Linked DNA regions of Homo sapiens: regions 1 and 3 are each linked to region 2. The links are contacts of gene promoters, found by promoter capture Hi-C in blood cells and fetal thymus (Javierre and others, 2016). All regions are on one chromosome and are shown on one strand. Each heading gives the region's core, a stretch centred on a gene start or on the middle of the fragment in contact. The rest is flanking DNA. Distances are from core to core; before and after follow the strand shown. Region 1 overlaps PKN2-AS1 (PKN2 antisense RNA 1). Region 2 holds the start of FAF1 (Fas associated factor 1). Region 3 overlaps PKN2 (protein kinase N2).

What was found. Contacts are between HindIII fragments. The CHiCAGO score rates a contact against its expected background, and 5 or more counts as called.
Region 1: a contact is called between a fragment that was not itself captured here and the fragment with the promoter of FAF1 in region 2, in 2 of 17 cell types (total B cells and activated CD4 T cells). The highest score is 6.2, in total B cells.
Region 3: a contact is called between a fragment that was not itself captured here and the fragment with the promoter of FAF1 in region 2, in 3 of 17 cell types (fetal thymus, naive CD4 T cells and activated CD4 T cells). The highest score is 20.1, in fetal thymus.

Annotation. Positions count from the first base shown.
Region 1 is chr1:88,672,059-88,676,196 of GRCh38, forward strand. The region is part of intron 1 of PKN2-AS1 (PKN2 antisense RNA 1); the gene reads right to left. Among named protein-coding and RNA genes, the nearest start is that of PKN2, 10 kb to the right of the region's middle. The HindIII fragment of the contact is 2,851 bases long and covers 383-3,233 here.
Region 2 is chr1:50,957,757-50,961,928 of GRCh38, forward strand. FAF1 (Fas associated factor 1) reads right to left here and starts at 2,511. Exons shown (of 19, transcript NM_007051.3): 1 at 2,011-2,511. The coding sequence starts at 2,055. It also overlaps a transcript of CDKN2C not described here. RefSeq lists an enhancer at 1,798-1,847 and silencers at 2,158-2,207, 2,318-2,477. The HindIII fragment of the contact is 1,270 bases long and covers 1,400-2,669 here.
Region 3 is chr1:88,692,941-88,697,111 of GRCh38, forward strand. The region is part of intron 1 of PKN2 (protein kinase N2); the gene reads left to right. Among named protein-coding and RNA genes, the nearest start is that of PKN2-AS1, 9.8 kb to the left of the region's middle. The HindIII fragment of the contact is 615 bases long and covers 2,515-3,129 here.

The sequences.
Region 1 (4,138 bases), core at 558-3,057, about 38 Mb after region 2:
AAATCCAAACCATAAAAAGAGTGGATGCTGTAGCTTGTGGAATATTACCCTTATTCACCAATCTGTTCAAAGTAATTTCTAACCCCATGGGATAGAGAAGGAAGTAAGTAGAGGAGAGCAGGAGAAAAAAATAATGGTATGCTGAAAAACATAGTTTGCCAATTGTAGATGTAACTATGATTTGTTTACAAGTTATATCTCTCCAAAAGACCAGGTCAATATCACACCAAGTGTAGAGGGAATGAATATACAGAAAATCTTCACCATTACACCTCAAATCTCTGCCAGGAATGTCCTGACTTTCATCCATTAATACTGCCTTAGGCAAAGGATGCCCCATCAACACTGCATACCGAACAAATCAAATCTAACACTTTGAGTAAGCTTTTTATTTTCATAAAAGCCTTTATAGCTTCTGGCCTCATTTACCTTTCAAATAAAAACAAATGAGTTGAGTTTATCATTATAACTAAGAAATTTAAATTCTTTCAGCATTTAAGTAATAGGAGAAGGCCCAAATTGAGATCAACTTTTAGCATGGTACCTACGGTAAGTAAAACAGGTACTAATGAAAAGTGATTAATTCAGAGCTGCCACAACTAAAATGTTAGTCTACATCATGAATCAGTTCGAAGATAAAAATGCATTTGAAGGTTAATGGTTTTAGAAAGATAGTTCAAAAGTGAAAAAACTGAGTTAATGTAAAATGTCTTAAATAACAGGCTACAAAAAATTATTTGCTTTATTATTATTCTATTACTATACTACTCACATAATGCCAAACCAAGAGGTTGAAATATAAGAAAATCTGGCTAATCAACAGTTATTTTAAACAAACATAAGTGAATTTTAACATTGTACAGTTATACCCACATGATTTCTACATGGTGAGTTTTGACATATTAGTCATAGCCTAAATAATATCTTTAAAAATAACTGACTTGAAATAAGAATAAGGATTTACTTTCCCTTATTTTGATAAACCTCTGTGTCCATTTTCCTTTATCTTTATTCATATATTGATATATATATTATAAATAGTGAATTTCAAATTTAAACATGGTTTGATCAGTATCAAAGATTATAGTACAGTTGATTAATGTAACATATTTTATTAACTCAGTACAAAAAATATTTTTGGAATGTTGACCTCGTCAAGATGGCATGCATTTTTTAGGCAAATAATTACTCCAAATACAGAGTCTATCAGCTGAGAAAACAGTGAAAAAATGATGTTAATAATATAGGTAAGATATATTTATGAAGAATTTATGGTAAGACAAATATAACCCAGAATAATTCTAAAAGCAAGTCCTATTCTTTTGGGTAAAAGCCCTTATAATATATTTATACCTACAATAGGTGATATAGTATCATTATATCTACAATACTTCAGATTTAATACAAACTCAACTTATAAGGTTGATCATTTTCATTGTTTTAATATAGTTGATAGTTCTTAGCTTTCCATTCTTAGCTCATAAGAAAATAGGAAGTATCTTTCTCTGAAGCAAGTGAACTCATGAGAAAAGTCTTGAATACTTCTCTGTAGCCCCAATTTCAAGTCACAGATTAAGTGTCCACATTGTTTGCAACTAAGTCACAGCTAAATTGCTTCAGAAATGTTTAGCAGATTGCTTTATAGCAGAATAACACAGTTTGAACCATAGTTTCTTGAATACATCTTGCTGGGAGCTTATTTCATTCAAATGGTGAAGGCAGCTGAAGTATGATATTTGAATCAGCCACATTTTGCTCTAATAAAGGAGAATTTTAGGATGCTCTAGTTGTGATAGGCAACAAAGTAAAGCAATTGAAATGTGGATCTTATATTTTATACAATTCAGACTGCTTGCATATGTGTGTGTGGTGATAAGGTACTTTAAAAATAAAATTTCATTTGGCAAGAGGCTTACAGTTAAACTGTAAAAGCAATACACAGATCATGTGAATTACCAGCATACAAAAATAAATATGCAAATGACTGTAATACTCTTCCAAAATAGCATCTTTAATAGGAAACCCTTCATAAGAATCTTTATAAAGTGACATATTTTAAAATCGCTTTTATATTTTATAAGTACCTATAACTAGCAGTTCTTATTTTTAATTAGAAAATACACATATTTTCAGCCACACTTGAATAAGTGGTATGTATGCACATAAAGAATGGTTACATATATACATTTCTATTATACATTTTAAAAATCATCAAACAAGTTCTTATCAAGCACTTTCTACTCATATTAAACTTTATATATTACTGGATGCTGTGGAGATTACAGAAGTAATATATATTGTTTTCACTCAAGAAGCTCAAAATCTACATGGGAAACACAGGAGTGAATATAATTGGATCCTAATGTGTGTATGCAGGTATAACCCCAGTAAATTTTAGATACTCCATAGATTTTGTCAAATGAGTGAATGAATTGTAAAAGCTAAACTGAGTTTTTGTTTTTGTTTTTTAGATGATTCTCAGTCTGTCTTCCAGGCTGGAGTGCAGTGGTGTGATCTCGGCTCCCTGCAACCTCTGCCTCCCAGGTTCAAGTGATTCTCCTGGCTCAGCCGCCTGAGTAGCTGGGACTACAGGTGCGTGCCACCATGCCGGCTAATTTTTTTTTTTTTTTTTTTTTTTTTTTTTGTATTTTTAGTAGAGACAGGGTTTCACCATGTTGGCCAGGCTGGTCTCAAACTCCTGACTTCAGGTGATCTTCCTGCTTCGCCATCCTAAAGTGCTGGTATTACAGGTGTGAGTCACCCCTCCTGGCCAAGCTAAAATGTTTTTAATCACTCACTTTAGATAGTTTAAATATTTCAAAAAATTCTATCAATGGAAAGTTTGAGAAGAGGGCCTATTTAAATATCTGACTTGGAATGTATATTCTAGTTAAATATTGCCATGTATATCTATTATTCTGTCCCCCCTTCCCCCAACCAAACCAACCAACCAACCATTTCATTATGCTCACAAATTCTATGGTTTGGGAGTTTGTACAGGACATAGTGGGGATTGTCTCTTTCCATGATGTCTAGGGCCTCAAATAGGATGCTTCCAACAGCTGGAAGCAACTTGAACTGGTGGGGACTGGAAGGGCTGAGAATGGAAGATCTCTTACCAAGAGGGAAATAGGTCTTTACCCTCCTGTCTGGTGACTGGGCTGGGATGATTTAAAGGCTAGGTTCAGCTAGGACTATCAACCACAACACCTATATATATGGCTTCTCCATGAAGCTTTGACTTCTTACAGAACAGTGGCTGGGTTCTGAGAAGGTTCAAGCTAGGAGGGAGTTTTCTAAGAATTTATGGTCTTTTTTTTTTATAACTGATATATATAATACATTTGCTCTGAAGCTCACATTTTAAAGCCTGAGAAGTAGAATGCTTTACCAACGGCAAAAATCACTGACTAAAATACCTATGAAGTGGATATTGTGAATTGTCCATCAAAATCCACCCTGTCCCTGTTCTGTAGGAAGAGTTGTAGCAAGGTCCATAACTACACAGTTAGAGATGACATTTCTCAGCCTCATTTGAAGCTAGGTGTGGCCATGTGACTACATTCCCAGAATGGAATATGAACAGAAATGTGTAATTTTGAGCCTGGGTCTCAAGACATTGGATATATGATCCTCCATGCTCCTTTTTCTTTCGCATGAGGTAGATCATGGAGTTCCTTGACCCATCTTCAACCATGCAGCTGAGAATAATGCCATGGTGAATGATAAGTTAGAAAGTGCACAGCAACAAGATAGAAAAAACCTGGGTTCCTGGTACAGTCTTTGTGTGTGAGAAATAAGCAAATTTCAGTGTTCTTTAAGCCATAGTGTTTTGGGTCCTCTTTGATAGAAAAGTTTAGCTTTACTCTAATTCAGATAGTACATACACATGATTGAATGATAGCTGGATGCTGAAGAAATGATGGTAGGGAAAGCAAGCTCCCTGTTGTCCATCTCCCCCAACCAAACCCTTTAAAATGTTTGGTATGGTCAATATTTTTGTATCTATTGACTTTTATTGCTATTTTAAGTTGCAGAAGATGTTTCTGATGAAGGAAGCACTAGTAGTAAAATGGTCATGTTTATTATGTAAATTTTTTCATACTTATATTCCTTTTCCATTTTGACATGGCCAGCC
Region 2 (4,172 bases), core at 1,261-3,760:
TTAAGCATAATAATTGTCACACACAAAAAATAGAAAGCAGATGCAAGTTATTAGAGATAAAAAGGTAAAATTAAAACAAAGTTATAATTACTTTATAAAGTTTTTAATGAGGGAAATCAGAAGACAATTTTGTAACACGGTAAAACTACACCTTGAAATATAGAGTCCTTTTTCAAACAGTGCATTCCACATTAGATAAAAAATGGAACTGGAGAACAAAAACAAAACAAAAAGACGATGATGAAAAACTTAGGCAGGGCTGGGTGTTGGAGCTTACACCTGTATTCCCAACACTTTCGGAGCCTGAGGTGGGTAGATCACTTGAGCCCAGGAGTTCAAGACCAGCCTGGGCAACATGGCAAGGCCCATCTCTAAAAAATTTAATTAATTAATTAATTGAAAAATTTTTTAAAATGTAGGCAGGCAAAAAGCCTCAGGCCAATCCTAAACCTACAAAACATCAAAATCTTATGGTCAACTTTTATTATAAGGACACTCCTTTATTAGTTTGGAGGTTATGGTTTAATCAAACTGTAGATATATGCATATTCCTAATACCTGTATATCAGATTTCACTGGGTAACCAAAACAGCAAACTCTGAAAATGGTTATCTGAACGTTAATTTGTAAAAATAAGGGCCGGGAGCAGTGTGGCTCACGCCTGTAATCCCAGCACTTTGGGAGGCCGAGGAGGGTGGATCACGAGGTCAGGAGATCAAGACCATCCTGACTAACACGGCGAAACCCTGTCTCTACTAAAAATACAAAAATATTAGCCAGGCGTGGTGGCCGGCGCCTGTAGTCCCAGCTACTCGGGAGGCTGAGGCAGGAGAATGGCGTGAACCTGGGAGGCGGAGCTTGCAATGAGCCGAGATCGCGCCACTGCACTCCAGCCTGGGCGACAGAGCGAGACTCCGTCTCAAAAAAAAAAAAAAATTAATTAATTTTAAAAAAAATAAGGAACTTAATAGAACAGAGAGAGAGAAAAGCCCAACAAAATTTCAGCAAGGAAAAATACTGCCTACTAAGCTAGTGTTAGAACCTGTGCAATGTGAGTATTAAAAAAGAGGGAAAAGTCTGCCTATACTTGACAGTAGCTTCTAAGTTGATGCCAAAATGGCCAAAAATATCTCACTAAAATAATTCCTTCACCAAACATCAAAAGGCAAAGGTAGCACTCACAGGATATTAGTTCTAGCTCCAAGTCTTTCACAATGCATACAGTTCTACTTTCAAAGGGCCTTCCTAAGATACTTACATGTCAGTGGCACTACGACTGGGTTTATTAAGAGAACAGCCTTTACTTATCCTTTAAAGTATTCCTGGAGAAAGGACACCAACCAAGCAATTCAAGTCTGTAGGGGAGGGGAATCCGCAAATATGAATAGGTAATTTATTAAGCTTGTGAATTCATTGCAGAGATACTCTGGAATATATAGTCTTATCTGTCTCCTTGTTATCTTCTTACCCTCCAAAGATTCCAATTAGGCAAAGTCTCAAATGTTTACTCCTCTTTGAAAAGGACCTCAGTACCCCATTGTCATTGCCCTCGCCATCTCATCATTCTGCTTTTTTACTCTTCCCTTAATACAATATAAATACACCACGCCCATAACACCACACGCTCCACGCTCACACTCCATACATCTCTCCCCACAGAACCACCCAAAACATCCCATACTTAATGGTCCAACACCAATTAAAACAAAAACTCTACACGTCCCCCCATATAATACAGGAAACACTACACATTCCACACACATTGTAACCCAAGTCATTAATACCTCCAATCCCATTCAACCCGTACTTAACACATTCTACACACTCATGATAGCATATAAATTATACGCTTCTCCATAGCTCGCCACACACACACACACACGCCACGCACCGTATAAAAGCCTAAATGACACACCACTGCAGCGTTCAAACGCTGGGAAGAAGACTCCCTTGTGGCACCGGAAACCCACGAGGTTGGAAGTGGGAGGGGAAGAGGGCCAGATACTTCACCTGAAAATCCGCCAGGATCATCTCCCGGTCCATGTTGGACGCCATGGCGGCCGCCGAGTTCCGCGGCTCCGGGAGCGAAGCGCGCACCTGGGAGGCAGACGGCACCTCCTGCGACCGTCGCCGCCACCGCCGCCGCCGCCGCCGGGCGCCGAGGGGCTGGCGGGCGAGCCGGCGGGCGGGTCGGCGGGCCAGCGGGCGGGGCAGCGCGGGAAGCGCTAGGCGCTCATGCACTCGGTAACCTTCAGGCGCCCCGGCCGCCCGCCTGCAACCTGCGGAGCCCGCGTCGCAGCAGCCCGGACAGGAAGATTGGTCTGGATGTGGGTCCGGTCTTACAGTCGCGGGCCAGGATGAGGGCAGGTTGCGACAGCGCGCACCCGGATACCTTCAGCGGCGTTAAGCCCGGCGGGGGCGGGGAAACCGAGCGAGCGAGCGGGCGGGCGAACGCCGCGGCCGCCTCCGCCTCCTCCGCTTCCTCCCTGGCCGCCGCCTCCGCCCCTGGTTGGCCAGCGCCACGGCTGTCGCACATTTTGCCTGTCATCGAGGTCGCAAAGCGCCGCTTTGCGGCTCCACGTGACCACCCTCCTGTCAAGCGCTGAGCGCGCGACTACCCGGCCAGGATCTCTGCGCTGGCGGCAGAGACTGCAACCTGCAGCTGCGGAAGCTTCAAGTCTCGCAACAGGTTATTCCAGTTTGGATTTAAGCAAAGGCCTCAGGATAGCGCCTCCCCCTAGCTGAGGCGGGGACCAGATTGTGCACCTCACGTGGTTAGTCACACAAATACACACCACCCTCACAAACCAACTAAACACACTGTTACAACTCGTCTAACAAACAGCATTTCAGAAATATATGTTTTTCTCTACAATGTTTCAGCAAAATACAGCTTCATATAGTCTCTCACGCTCAACCTGTCAAAACCGAATCCACACTGTCACACCCAGTCCCAAGCTCCCTGACGTCTGCATCCTCAGACTCCGTAACACAGAAGTAACCAGACTGCCATGGTAGACATGGGAGAGACGAGGAAGCTGAGAAAGGTAAAAATCTCGTTCCAGAGAAGAGGAGGAGCATTTTTTTTAATTGATAAGGTAGTTATGAGAAATAACAACCTCGAGTTAATAGGGTTGCTCCAAAGGGGGAAAAAAGGGAAAACCTTTCTACTGCTGCAGTTATATTTGTTTTTTTAAGCTGAGACATCTTACAAATGGGATAAAACTTGAATCCAGCTTTGAATATAGTCAGTCTATTTTTATTTATTTATTTATTTATTTATTTATTTATTATTTTGAGACGGAGTCTCGCACTGTGGCCCGGGCTGGAGTGCAGTGGCGCGATCTCGGCTCGCTGCGACCTCCGCTTTCTGGGTTCAAGCGATTCTCCTGCCTCAGCCTCCATAGTAGCTGGGATTACAGGCTCCCGCCACCAAGCCCGGCTAAGTTTTTTTTGTATTTTTAGTAGAGACGGGGTTTCACTATGTTGGGCAAGCTGATCTCGAACTCCTGTCCTCGTGATCCGCCCTCCTCGGCCTCCCAAAGTGTTGGGATTACAGGCGTGAGCCACTGCACCCGGCCTATTCATTTTCATAAGAAATTATTTTGGAATATTCACCAAATATTGAAAGTTTCAACCCATGGTCAGAAATTGACAACCTCTGTAACTAAAACAGCCAAAGACTATGTACAATGAAGTGTGACAGTTTGTAATTGTCGTCCAGGTTAGAGAAAGTGTGACAGTGGAAGTTGTTCATCCTTGACTTGGGAAAATATCAGCTTCTGGATTGTCATGGGGCATTTACTTGCTTTGGAAAGTATGTAAAAGCTTGAAAATGTGAAGTAAGATTGCTGATTTTATCCTGTAGAGCTAAAATAACTAGTGAAATCATCATGTAGCATGAAGGCCTAGGCTTCCCTTAAGAACTTTTTAAACTTGTATCATTTATTTACTTTTTTAGAGACAGGGCCTCACTATGTTGCCCAGGCTGGCTTCCAACTCCTGTGCTCAAGCCATCCTCCCACCTCAGCCTCCTGAGAGTGGGGATTACAGGTGTGAGCCATACCACCACACCCAGCAAGGCCTAGGCTCCATAAACTGGGAATATATTCATGAGAAATCAGAAATATGACCTAATTGTTCAGTTTCACTGAATATAAAGAAGTGCACTG
Region 3 (4,171 bases), core at 1,572-4,071, about 38 Mb after region 2:
ATTAATAGTTTATGGCCTGGGGATTTGTAAACTATCCAAATGAACAGCCATAGGAAGTTGTATAAAATATTGTATTGCTTCACACATGCTAGGCACCCAAATGCTAGGTTGATTTAGTTAATGAGTAAATTCAGAAGCAAAGAAATAGCAAAAATTATACATACACTTCATCAGTTGCTTATTTTCCAATTCCATACCTCTCTGTTGCAAACTACTTATTATTAGTCATTAATAATATTTTATTCTTTTGTTTAAAGGGCAGTATATTCCGTAAGATTATGTGAGTCAGTTATTTAGGTATTTTCATAGCTTGCCATTAAAATGCTGGAGTTGATCAGATTTAATACTGGATATAAAGCAAAATATTAATCTTCTGAACAGTTTACTAGTTCAGAAGTTTACAAACTCGGAATCCTAAATACAGTTTTTGTCATTGCTGTGCATCTTTTGATAAAAAAAATTCTTAAGTCAAATTTGTCCATTGTTTATCATACAGTAAGTCCTCACTTAATGTCATTGACGGGTTCTTGGAAACTGACTTTAAGCAAAATAACTTATAATGAAACCAGTTTCTTTTTTCTCATCAGTGTTCTAAGGAAATGATATTATAAACAATGAAACATTAGCCAGAAGTGGTGATGCACACCTGTAGTCCCAGCTACTTTGGAGGTGGAGGTGAGAGAATGACTTGAGCCCAAGAGTTAAGGCTGCAGTGAGCTGGAATCGTGTCATTGCACTCTAACCTGGGCAGCATAGTGAGACCCTGTCTCAAAAAAAGAAAGAAAAGAAATGATATTGAGCGAAACAGCATTATTAAAGGACCTGAAGCACATTGTTTTTCTTAAAGTCTCAGTTCCAAGAACCTATCAGCAGTGTTAAGTGAGGACTTACTGTAATTGCTTTTCATGCCCTTTTAAATAAATTATTCCCTATCCTGGGTTTAAAAGATAGCTACCCAAGTTTGCTCCTAAGAATCTTGCAGTTTTATTTTTTAGATTTAAGTCAGTTTATCTGGATTTGTTGTTTTTTAATAGACTTCATATTTTAAAGCAGTTTTAGGTCCACAGCAAAATCGAGAGGAAGGTCTAGAGATTTCTCAAATAACTGCGTCCCTACATATGTACATATGCATTATCGACATCCTCCACAAGAGTACATTTGTTGCAGTTGATGAACCTATATTGACACATCATCATCATCCAGAGCCCAGAGTGCACACATCTTGGTGTTGTGCATTCTATGGGTTTGTACAAATGTATAATGACATGTATCCAGCATTATAGTATACAGAATAGTGTCCCTGCACTAAGCTTATTCTCTGTGTTCTACCTATTCATCCTTCCCTCTCCTCCATCCCCTGGCAACCACTGATCTTTTTACAGTTTCCATAGTTGTGCGTTTGGGAAAATCTCATGCGGTTGGAATCATACAGTGTGTAGCCATTTTACATGGGTTTCTTTCACTTAGAAATAAGCATTTAATTTTCCTCCATGTCTTTTCATAGCTTGATAGCTTATTTCTTTTTAGTACTGAATAATATCCCATTGTCTGTATGTACCTTAGTTTATTCATTCACCTACTGAAGGACATCTTGGTTGCTTCTGTTTTGGCAGTTATGAATAAAATGCTATAGACATCCTATGCAAGTTTTTGTGTGGATGCAACTTTTCAACTCCTTTGGTTAAATACCAGGGTGTCCAATTGTATGGTAAGAATATATTTAGATTTGTAAGAAACTCCCAAACTGCCCTCCAGAGTGCCCGAACTATTTTGTATTCCTACCAACAATAAGAGTTTTTGTTGTTCCACACCATCTCCAGTATTTGGTGTTGTCAGTTTTCTGGATTTTGGTCATTCTAATAAGTGTATCATGGTATCTCATTTCTGTTTATTTAATAGCATTGATTTTTGAATATGGAGATAGGTCTGAGTTATTTTAATGTTTAAAAACATTTTGAAGGCCAAGGCGGGCAGATCATGAGGTCAGGAGATCGAGAGATCACAGTGAAACCCCGTCTGTACTAAAAATACAAAAAATTAGCCGGGCGTGGTGGCGGGCGCCTGTAGTCCCAGCTATTCTGGAGGCTGAGGCAGGAGAATGGCGTGAACCCGGGAGGCAGAGCTTGCAGTGAGCCGAGATTGCGCCACTGCACTCCAGCCTGGGCGACAGAGCGAGACTCCATCTCAAAAAAAAAAAAATTTTGAAATGTCTGTCAGACGTCTTTATAATGCAAATTTAAAATAGAGCACTTTTCAGCTTTTAGGATAGAAACATCTACACATAGCTTTATTAGCCTAACTCTAACTTGCAAAAATTAATCAAATATGATTAATTAAAATTAATTAAAATTAATCATTTGATTAATCAAATTTGATAAATTCTTGCCAGTTAGAGTTACATCATGCTAGGTTATGTATTGAACTATACCTGAACTTATCCTTACCTAGCTCAGTAATACCTCACTTTTTCCTTATTATATCAATTTGTGGTTCTTTTGTTTTTTTATCTCCTGAAGCTTTGGGTTAGTAAAGGTCATCCTTGTCTTAACTCTTATTGACACCCATCCCATTCCCCAGTTGTGGCTCAAACTTTTTATGTTGTTTTCTGTCATCCAACCTACTCCTGCTCTTTTGTTCTCAGCATATCACTCATCTCTATGTAGTGATACGTGCTGTTCAACCACGTGAGTTTCCTCAAGTTTTCTTGTCTTTACTTTCAGATTTCTTGGAATGTTAGCCATCCTTTTTATTTCTACTGAATTTTAAGGAAAAATTGCTTCTTCTTGGTAAGGTTATACTTTCCTGGGCTTTTGCTTCCTCTGGAATATCATGTTTTACTCTTTTGCAGGGTGGGGCTTTGCATTATCCACTGGCTCTTGGCTTAAAAATAAGTTAACGTCTCTCATGTTTTTATTATACTCTTTAATACTGTTGTACCCTCAAATTTCTTTCTTTTTTAAAGAAATTTCTTAGATGCCTTGTCTACCGTTTATTTAGCTTACTCATATATGACTTCTGTCTCAGTTATTCTGTTGAAGTGGTTTTCTTAAAGGTATCATGACATTCTGTTGCTTCTAGTCTTTAGACGCAATTGATACTGCTCCAGCTTCCTGAAACTATTGTTAATTAAGCTTTGAGGACCCTGCACTATATTGGTTACTTTTCTTTCATCATACCTGCCTCTGTTTGTTACTACTGCTTTTGTTTGGTAACTCCTTTTCTACCTTAAATGTTCCACCTATTTGTAGCCTATTTTCCCATTAATTTATCCTTCAGATTAACCACCGGAATCTGATTAACCGCCAAAACCTTGTTTAGTAACAGTTGCAGAAAATAGAAACCCACTTAAATTAGCTTAAGCAGAAATTGGATTTTTTGAAAAGCTATGGGGTTGTATCACTTAAGGGTAAGATGTATAGCCAGATCCCATGAGTACTAAACAGGAAACTGGATGTTTTCTTTCTAGGGCTACATGTTCTCTTTTCTTTAAGTATGTGTACTGCTTTATGTCTCTGTATACTGGTTCTCTTTGCTCTCCTTGCCTGTGGTCTCCAAGTTGCACTCCTAACTTCTAAATTTACATTAACTACAAGTTCATTGCACATAGACCACAGCTGACTGACTGAGTTGCTATATGTCACAATTCTAAATTCTTAGATGAGAAAATCTGAGTGGCCTTAGTCAGTGGAACATGTGTCCCTGATCCAGCTAACTATGGCAGTGGAGGGATGAGATTCTCTAGTATCAATATGGCTTCAAGAAACCTCTTGTGAGGTTGGGACAGACTATTTTCTGAAAAGGGATTCTAGGTTGAGAATTCTAGGGATTCTCCTGCTTAAATGTTTCAGTTACTTTCCATCGATTATAGAATAAAATATATTTATACTTTTCATCATCTGACCCCCATTTTTTCTGATTTTTCTCCCTATTTATCTTACACTCTGGAATATTAAAACTATTTACATTTCTTTGAACCACACTCCCTATCTTTGCATATGCTGATTCTGGTTTTAAGAATACTAATATTGCTTGTCTGTCTGAACAGCATTTGACAAATTGGACAATCCTTAAAATTCTGATAAGAAAATCATATTCATTGACTATATGAATATATTTATATCTAATAAAAGTTTTACTTAAGATATATTTTTGATTAATAAATTTAGGGAAT